Linked DNA regions of Homo sapiens: region 1 is linked to region 2. Evidence: promoter capture Hi-C in human tissues and cell types (Jung and others, 2019). All regions are on one chromosome and are shown on one strand. Each heading gives the region's core, a stretch centred on a gene start or on the middle of the fragment in contact. The rest is flanking DNA. Distances are from core to core; before and after follow the strand shown. Region 1 overlaps FCHSD2 (FCH and double SH3 domains 2). Region 2 holds the start of NUMA1 (nuclear mitotic apparatus protein 1).

Region 1 (5,072 bases), core at 558-3,057, 1.0 Mb after region 2:
TGGGTACATATATATTTACAACTGTTATATCTTCTTGCTAAATTGACCTCTTTATCATTATACAATGACCTTCTTTGTCTCTTCTAAAAGTTTTTGTCTGATATATGCATAGCTACTCCTGTTCTTTTTTGGCTTCCATTAGCATGGAATATCTTTCTCCATCCTTTTTTTTTTTTTCAGTCTATGTGTGTCTTTATAGGTGAAGTGTGTTTCCTGTAGGCAACAGGTCACTGGATCTTGTTTTTTTCAATCCAGTCAGCCACTCTATGTCTTTTGATTGAAGAGTTTAATCCATTTACATTCAATGTTGTTACTGATAAAGACTTACTCCTGTTATTTTATTTTTGGGTGTGTGGTCATCTCTTCCTTCTTTCCTTCCTTCCTGTCTTCCTTTTAGTGAAGGTGATTTTCTCTGGTGGGGTGTTTTAATTTCTTGCTTTTTATTTTTTGTGTATCTGTTATATGATTTTTGATTTGAGGTTACCACAAGGCTTGCAAATACTACCATAAAACCCAATTATTTTAAACTGATGACAACACTGATTGCATAAACAAACAAGCAAAAAGAAAACTAATAAAAACCTACACTTTTAACTTTGTCCCCCTATTTTTAACTTTTGGTTGTTACTATTTATATCATATTATACTGGATATGTCTTTAAAAGCTGTTGTAGTTAATATTTTTAATTTGTTCATCTTTTAGTCTTTCTACTTAAGAATAACTTATACATCACAATTACAGTGTTATAAAATTGTTTTTCTGTGTACTTACTATTACCAGTGAGTTTTGTACCTTTAGATAATTTCTTATTGCCCATTAATGTCCTTTTCTTTCTGATTAAAGAACTCCCTTTAGCATTTCTTATAGGACAGGTCTGGTGTTGATGAAATTCCCCAGCTTTTGTTTGTCTGGAAAAGCCTTTATTTTTCCTTAATGTTTGAAGGATATTTTCACCAGACATACCACTCTAGGGTAAAAGATTTCCCCTTTGGCACTTTAAACATGTCATGTCACTCTTTCCTGGTCTGTAAGGTTTCCACAGAAAAGTCTGCTGCTGGACATATTGGAGCTCCATTATGTGTTTTTGTTTCTTTTCTCTTGCTGCTTTTAGGATCTGTTCTTTATCCTTGACATTTGGGAGTTTCATTATTAAATGCCTTAAGGTAGTCTTCTTTGGGCTGAATCTGCTTGGTGTTCTATATGCTTCTTATACTTGAATACTGATAGCTTTCCCTAGGTTTGGGAAGTTCTCTGTTGTTATCCCCGTGAATAAACTTTCTACTCTGATCTCTCTCCCTGCCTCCTCTTTAAGGTCAATAACTCTTAGATTTGCCTTTTTGTTGTTGGTGGTGGTGTTGGTGTTGTTGAGACGGTGTCTCGCTCTGTCGCCCAGGCTGGAGTGCAGTGGCATGATCTCAGCTCACTACAACCTCTGCCTCCCAAGTTCAAGCAATTCTCCTGCCTCAGCCTCCTGAGTAGCTGGGGTTACAGGCATACACTATCATGCCTGGCTAACATTTATTTATTTACTTATTTAGTATTTTTAGTAGAGATGGGGTTTCACCATGTTAGCCAAGCTCGTCTTGAACTCCTGACCTCAAATAATCCACCCACCTCGGCCTCCCAAAATGCTGGGATTACAGGCATGAGCCACTGCCCTCGGCCAGATATGCCCTTTTGCAGCTACTTTCTAGATCTGGTAGGCGTGCTTCATTTTTATTCTTTTTTCTTCTGTCTTCTCTGTGCATTTCCAAAGAGTTTATCTTCAAGCTCACTAATTCTTTATTCTGCTTGATAAATTCTGCTGTTAAGAAATTATGATGCATTATTCAACTCCAGAATTTCTGCTTGATTTTTTGTAAGTATTTCAATCTCTTTGCTAAGCTTATCTGATAGAATTCTGAAGTCCTTCTCTGTGTTATCTCGAATTTCTTAGAGTTTCCTCAAAATAGCTATTTCGAATTATCTGTCTGAAAGGTCACATAGCTCTGTTTCTCCAGGACTGTTCCCTGGTACCTTAGTTTGGTTGATCATCATGCTTCCCAAGATGGTCTTTTTTTTTTTTTTTTTTTTTTTTTTTTTTTCTGAGACAAGGTCTCACTCTGTCACCTAGATTGGAGTGCAGTGATGTGATCTTGGCTCACTGCAACCTCTGCATCCTGGGCTTAAGTGATCCTCCCACCTCAGCCTCCTGAGTAGCTGGGACTACAAGCATGTGCCACCACGCCCAGCTAGTTTCTCTATTTTTAGTAGAAACGGGGTTTCGCCATGTTGCCAAGACTTGGCCTTGATGCTTGTGGATATTTGTCGGTGTCCAGGCATTGAAGAGTTTGGTATTTATTGTAGTCGTCATAGTCTGGGCTTGTTTGTACCCGTCCTTCTTGGGAAAGTTTTCCAGGCATTTGAAGAAACACCCATTTGTACCCATCCTTCTTGGGAAAGTTTGTCAGGTATCTGAAGAAACTTGGGTGTTGTAATCTAAGCCACATCTGCATTAGGGGGCACCCCAAGCCCAGTAATGCTATGTTTCTTGAAAACTTGTAGTGGTACTGCCTTAGTGGTCTTGGTTAAGATCCAGAAGAATTCTCTATATTACTAGGCAGAGATTCTTGTTCTCTTTCCTTACTTTCTCACAACACTTGGTCTCTTTGCTCAAGGGCCTAGGGCTCTACAATCAGCAGGTGATAAAGCAAGCTGGGCCTCTGTCCTTCCCTTTAGGGTGGCAATTTCCCCCATACCCCAGGCAGGTCCAGAGATGCCAGTAGCCAGGTACTGGAGTCAAAAACCTTTGAAATCTACTTGATGCTCTATTCTACTGCAGCTAAGCTGGCACTCAAACTATAAGACAAAAGTCCTTCCTATTCTTCCCTTCTCTTTCCACAAGCAGAAGAGCTTCTCCCCAAGGTCATCACCACCCCAGAACCACAGAGGGTACTGCAAGGCTACTGCCAATGTTCACTTCAGGCTCAAGTGCTCTTCAGTCATCTTGTGGTGAATTCTTCCAGACCTGGGACTAACCCTTCAGCGCAGTAGGCTCCCATCTGGCCCAGGGCAGGTCCAGAAACGCTGTCCAAGGGCCAAATCCTGGAATCAGAGGCCCCAAGAGCCTGCTTGGTGCTCTACCCAACTGTGGCCAAGCTGATACCTGAGGTGCAAAACTAAATCTCCTTCACTTTTCCCTCCCCTTTTCTCAAGCAGGAGTTTCTCACTGTAGCCACCATAGCTGGAAATATGCTGGGTCTCACCTGAAGCCAGCACATCACAGAAGCTCACCCAAGACCCACAGCGTACTAACTAGGTATTGCTGCTGGTTCCTCAGGGCCCAAGGGCACTTTAGTCAGCAGGTAAAGAATGCCACCAGGACTGGATCCTTCTCTTCAAGGCAGGAGTTTCCCTTCTGGCCCAGGGTGTGTCTACATATGTCATCCAGAAGCTAGGGCCTGATGACTCCGCCCAGTGCCCTATCCTCCAGTGGTTGAGCTGGTATCCAAGATGTAAGATAAAAGTCCTCTTTACTCTTACCTCTCCTCTTCTCAAGCGGAAGGAGGGGGTCTTTTTTGAAGCTACAAGCTGTGCGCCCAAAACTGAGGGAGGGGTGGCACAAGTACTCCCTCGGACGCCATGGCTGGTGTCTCACTAGGTCATGTGCCCCACCATGTTCACTGGCTCTGAGCCCAGCTCAGCACAAAGACTTGCCTAAGAATTGGAGTCCTAGTGTCTTAGACTGCCTTTCAAGTTTATGTAGGGCCTACAGCAATTTAGCCTGCAGTGGCAAGGCGTGCTGAAATTCAAGTTCCAACAACTGGGCTGGGAGATTCCCCTCTGACTATGGCTGGCCTAAATGCTCCCTCCATGAGTGGTCATTGGCTAAGTTTAGCCCAGTTTTGCTTTCCCCTTCGACAGAACAGCACTGAGTTCAATGGAGGGTCTCAATCACAGCACTCTCCCTCCCTGACATGCAGAATCTCCACACCATGCAGCCAGTGCCAGGGTATGGAAGAGGGGTGGCGTTGGCAATTCAAGACTCTCTTTCCTACCTTCTTCAGTGCCTCTTTTGTATTTTTAGCAGAGATGGGGTTTCACTGTGTTAGCTAGGATAGTCTCGTTCTCCTGACGTTTGGCCTCCCAAAGTGCTGTGAGCCACTGCGCCCGCCCTATCTCACTGTTTTTAAATGAAAACAATCTTATATATCTTTTCCAACTCTATACTTTCGTGTCGTTTTCATGTCTTCTGGCACTGGAGGGTGCATGCATCAAGGTTCTTCAGAGAAACAGAGTGAATAGGGAAGAGAGAAAACACGAGAGAGAAGGCAGATAGCTAGACACAGACAGACATAAAGATATTTATTTTAAGAAATTGGTTCATGCAATTGTAGGAGCTGACAAGTCCAAAATCTGTAGGGCAGGCCATCAGGCTGCCAAACTGAGATAGGAGTTGATGCTGCAGTCTTGAGGCAAAATTTCTTCTTCTTCCAGATACCTCAGTTTTGTTCCTAAGGCCTTTCAACTAATTGTGAGACATATCCACATTATTGAGGGTAGCCTCCTTTACTTAAAGTCAACTGACTGTAGATGTTACCAACATCCACAAAATGCCTTCATGGCAACATGTAGATTAACATTTGATTAAATAGCTGGGTACTACAGCATAAGCAAGTTGATACATAAAAGTAACCATCACAGGGGCACAACTGTGTTATCCACGAGTTTAATGAGAAGACTCTTAAAACATCACCACTAAATATGATGACTGCAGATTTTTAAATAAATATCCTTCTTTTCAGATTGAAGACTTTCCTTTCTATTTCTAGTTTGCTAATAAGAGTTTTTATTCTGATTGGATACTGAATCTTTACTGAGATGATCTTATGGTTCTACTCCTTCAATCTGTTAATGTTAGATTTTCTAATATTAAATTGTCCTTGAAGTTTTTATAAAAACCCAATTTCATTATTACTTAATTTTCTTATATACCACTAGATTCTATTTAGTAAATTTTTGTTGACGATATTTTTACTTATGCTCCTAAGGCAGACTGGCATATAATTTGATTGCTTGTACTGTCCTGTTA
Region 2 (4,580 bases), core at 1,145-3,644:
GACAGGGCAAGCCACCATGCCCAGCTACAAAATAATAATTATCAATTAGAATTGTTCAGCTTAGAGATGGATTGACTTTGGGAATGATCTCATTCTAGAAAGTACTCATTTTGAGTCTGGACAACACCTTTTGGTATGTTTAGTGTACACTGGGTAAGAGGCTAAATTAAATGACCACACCATATATTAGGTTAATGCAAAAGTAACTGTGGTTTTTGCCATTACTTTCAATGGCAATAACTGCAATTACTTTTGCACAAACCTAATATCTTCTGATCATAGTTTTATCAATTAGACACAGCTGTCCAAACAGCCCCTGATCAGCTCTGTTCAGCCACCTGAGCAGGGCTTTGCCCTCATCCTAAAAGTTCTAGAATTCAAGTCTTATTTCAAGGCATTCTTCCCACTTCCATGTTCCACATGTAAAAAAGAATTCTACGTTTCTTAACGAGCTTTCAGGTAAGATCTTTAAGCTTTTGGAATGTACCGCTTTTCGCTGTGAACTAAGAGCTTAGACATTACAATTAGTCATCCCTTGCTAGAACTTAGGCTACGAAAAGAATACTTTGGAAGCTTTCACAAAAAAGTATGTGGTTCTTCCTCTAAAGAAGAAAATACCACACAGAAAGAGGGACTGAGGAAACATAAACCCATCTGTGCTGACAGAAAGCTACCTTACATGATCCTCATGTTCGCCCCAGGTTCCCATATATTCACAGCAGTAAAGATCTCCACAAAGCAGAGAGGCCCAACTCCCTTACCATTAAAGCTTTAACGACCAGACAACCCAGAAGTTTGGAAACATAGAACCAGGCAACAGATACTAGAGAGAGGGAATTATGTATTAAAGCAAGAAAATATCATCACGTTTTCAAGAGGGAGTGCCATTCCAGTAAAGAGGACAGCTTAATACTGAGGTTCAAATGCCACTAAATGAAAACGGGAAAGCGAAATTCCTGTGCCCTTTCAGCCCAAGAAATTATTCCAAAGCATACATTTATTCCCATTACATGTCGCAAATCCTGCCTAGCCATTAGGATACAGTGACGAAAAAGTCTCTCGTTATCTAGAAGGGCAGACAAACACGCAGACTTTTAAAATACCAGATGGCAGGCCGGGCGTGATGGCTCACGCCTGTAATCCCAAGCACTTTGGGAAGCCGAGGCGGGCGGATCACGAGGTCAAGAGTTCAAGACCGGCCTGGCCAAGATGGTGAAACCCTGTGTCTACTAAAAATACAAAAGTTAGCCGGGTGTGGTAGCGGGCGCCTGTAATCCCAGCTACTCGGGAGGCTGAGGCAGGGAACTGTTTGAACCCGGGTGGCAGAGGTTGCAGTGAGCCGAGATCGCGCCACTGCACTCCGGCCTGGGCGATAGGGCGAGACTCCGTCTCAAAAAAAAAAAAAAATGACAAGTGCTAACTCAGAGGTAAGCAAAAGAGAGTACCCAGAGGCGGCAGCATCAACCCAGTGGGCTCCCGCCCACCCACAATCTTCACACAGTCACACCACTTATAGTCATAAATTTGTACTCTCCGAGGTGCGTGTATGAAACATGTTATCTGTGAGAGTCCATGGATGAAAAACAAAAACAAACAAAAATTAAAAAAAAAAAAAAAAAAGACTTAACCTGTTTTGACCAGGACAACCACCCCAGGAAGTAGGTAAGGCAGGTAAGGTCATTGTTTACATATATGAAAAGTGAGGCTCAAAATACACTGACCAGTCCAAGACAACGCGCGCCCCCACAAAGCACCTTCCCCGTCCCCATTTATGCCCAACCCATAAACCCAAAGTAGAGCCAACCTCGCACTGGCTACGTAACCCGGGCCAAGCTAAACATTATAAACCTCAGGCTCCCCATCTTTAAAGTATAACAGGTGGTTAGAAGATTAAAAAGATAAACATTTGGCAGGTCATTGTGGACGGTGTAGCTCAGAAAATGCTGACTACTGCACTACCATAACTACTGCTATTGTTAACGATAAAAGGCAAAGACTTTCCAGGACCCGACCCCTCGCTTACAAGCCTTTCGGGAACTTGCCCTATACCCCCGACCCCAGTCACCTTCAGATTTAATTCCACAGACACGCCCCCAAACAGACCCTCCCCTTTAAGGCACCCCCCCCCCCCCCGGCTCCTCCCTCTCAGGCGCCTCTCCTCACAAACCTTACCCCCATAGATTCTGCCCTTTCGGACTCGGTTATGGAGGAGGCCTTCCGCTCGCAGCGGCCTCTCCAGCACCCCTTTTAGGCCTGAGCACCCGCAGGGGTGCCCAGGCCGCACGCCAAACGCGGGCCCGCGCCGGTTACCTGGCTGCGCGCTCCCGCTCTGCCTCGCGATTCTCCGGAATCGTACCTCTTCGTGGGCTCGCGCCAGCGCTGTGAGCGCACAATTAGTTTAAACTATGGCCCCGCCCCCTCGCGCTGCCCTCTGATTGGCCTCTGTCGGCGGGGCCCGCTTAAGGACCCGGGAAAAGGAAGTTTGAGGGCCACTGGGAAAGAGAAGGGGTATCACCGCTTCCGGACCCCGGCCTGTACTTGAAGGCAAAGAGAACTACAAATCCCAGCGTCACCCGCGGCCTTGAAGCCCCGCCCCTGACAAACTGAAGGTCCCGGTAAGCATCGCGTCAGTACTTATGGCGCCTGCCGGGTTGTGGTGACGAAAGCAGTTGCCATGGAGTTGCTCTGAGTAACCCTGAGGCAGTGGGACGCCAAGACTGGAGAGGAAGCGACTGCGGGTGAGTCGGGCGGGAAAACAGGAAACCCGTTCTAGGGGACAAGAGATCTATGGAGAAGGGAGGGGCACTCACAGAACGACTAAGAACCTTCCTGCTCGGGGATCTGAGATTTCCCCCACCGACCCTCATCACCTTTCACAGCGAACAAGATACAACACTCACATGGGACAGACTGGGCGAGGGGGAGCAGAGGGAGGGATAGGCGTTGAGATATATATCCATACAGATTTGGGGATGCTTAAGAACCACCCCCAGGGCCGGGAGCGGTGGCTCACGCCTGTAATCCCAACACTGGGAGACCAAGGCGGGCGGACCACTTAAGGCCAGGAGTTCGAGACCAGCCTGAGAAACATGGCGAACCCTGTCTCTACCAAAAACATAAAAAAATTAGCCGGGCTTGGTGGCGCGCTCCAGTGGCCCCAGCTACTAGGGAGGCTGAGGTAGAAGGATCGCTTGAGCCCGGAGATTGAAGCTGCAGTGAGCCGTGATCACGCAACTACACTCCAGCCTGGGCTATAGAGCGATACCTCCATCTCAAAACAAAACAAAACGAAACAAAACAAAAACAAAACAAAACAACGAACCCCGCCCCCAACGCAAACATAAAGCTCCCAAAATCGGATGCTTCAAGTTCCAGGCATAACCTGGGAGATCAGAAACGCCCTCAGAAATGGGGTTGGTTTTCCTCTGAGGAACTGAGACCCTCTTCCAAGACATGCGGTTAGCATTAGATTGAGTAAATCGCAGTCGCTACCCTAATTCTAGAGATGTAGGAAACTTCCTGGGGCGTGAAGTGCCTCATTCCTTCTTCTTCCAAGGAGTAAAACCCCTTCTCAATCTGTCCCCAGATTCCCTTTTCTCCCCACACCTTCTCCGTGGTCCGCTACTCAAAGCTCTACAGTTAGAGCTTCATTTTTTTTAGTACTCACGACAGATCTATTACATTTAGTAACCTACCCAGTGCTTTCACAGTCTCTCTTTTGATACTCTTAACAGCTCTGTGAGTCAAGGATATTTATCTTCATTTCACAGATTGGAAAACTGAAACCCAGAGAAAAGGGACTTGCCCAAGGCCACACACCAAATTAGTGACAGAGCTAGAACTAGACTCCAGTTCTCCGACTTCCAGCTAAGTCTCTTTAGCTTCAGCCTACTGCCTCTATAGCGGAAGGACTTGTTCCAAGGAACAAGTTAAACTGCCCCAGGGAAAAGGAACCTGTGTGGCCTACTTTGTATTATTTACACTTCAGCTGGAATGAATTTCAGATCCTCCCCTGAAACTTTTAATGGGGAAAAGGAACTAGAGAGACTAAGACAATGAGACTTGAACATTTTTAACTAAACAGGAAACAGAAGGGCTAACACAGCACCCATGTCTGAAGTGACCATGATTAGCTGGTTTCTAGCTGGTGACTAGCTGGCCCTGACTGGTCCACTTACTACCTTAAAGTTCTCCCAGGTTTGGTCCTACGCCCTCTTGCCACTGCACTCTATATTCTCTTCTTGGGTACCCCTCCACACCCACAACTTCATTTTCCACCTGTATGCAAATGTACACAAGTGTGTATCTCAAGCCCAGCCCTCATCTCTAAGCTCCAGATCTATATAGCCAATTGCCTCAACATCTCCTTTAGGATACCTCAAAGGCAACCCAAACTCTACATTTCTGAAATTGAAACAATCTCTGTGTATCCCAACCTTTTCCTCCAAGCCTGGATCTCTTCCAGTGCTCCTACCTTTATCCACAATATACCCAAGCCCAAAACCCAAGTTAGTACCTCTTCCATTTACTTAATACCTCTTCCATTTCCCATCTATCACTAAGTCTTATCAGCTTTACTT

What was found. Contacts are between HindIII fragments. The study calls those that stand out against the background at their distance.
Region 1: a fragment that was not itself captured here is called in contact with the fragment with the promoter of NUMA1 in region 2 in 1 of the 25 tissues and cell types used here (heart left ventricle).

Annotation. Positions count from the first base shown.
Region 1 is chr11:73,111,300-73,116,371 of GRCh38, forward strand. All of the region lies in intron 2 of FCHSD2 (FCH and double SH3 domains 2), which reads right to left. Among named protein-coding and RNA genes, the nearest start is that of FCHSD2, 28 kb to the right of the region's middle. The HindIII fragment of the contact is 4,633 bases long and covers 1-4,124 here.
Region 2 is chr11:72,078,148-72,082,727 of GRCh38, forward strand. It overlaps NUMA1 (nuclear mitotic apparatus protein 1), which reads right to left and starts at 2,395. Exons shown (of 27, transcript NM_006185.4): 1 at 2,311-2,395. LRTOMT (leucine rich transmembrane and O-methyltransferase domain containing) reads left to right here and starts at 2,703. Exons shown (of 9, transcript NM_001145310.4): 1 at 2,703-2,738. It overlaps LRRC51 (leucine rich repeat containing 51), which reads left to right and starts at 2,703. Exons shown (of 6, transcript NM_145309.6): 1 at 2,703-2,738. RefSeq lists enhancers at 1,806-2,761, 2,481-2,750, 2,762-3,716. The HindIII fragment of the contact is 11,805 bases long and covers 1-4,580 here.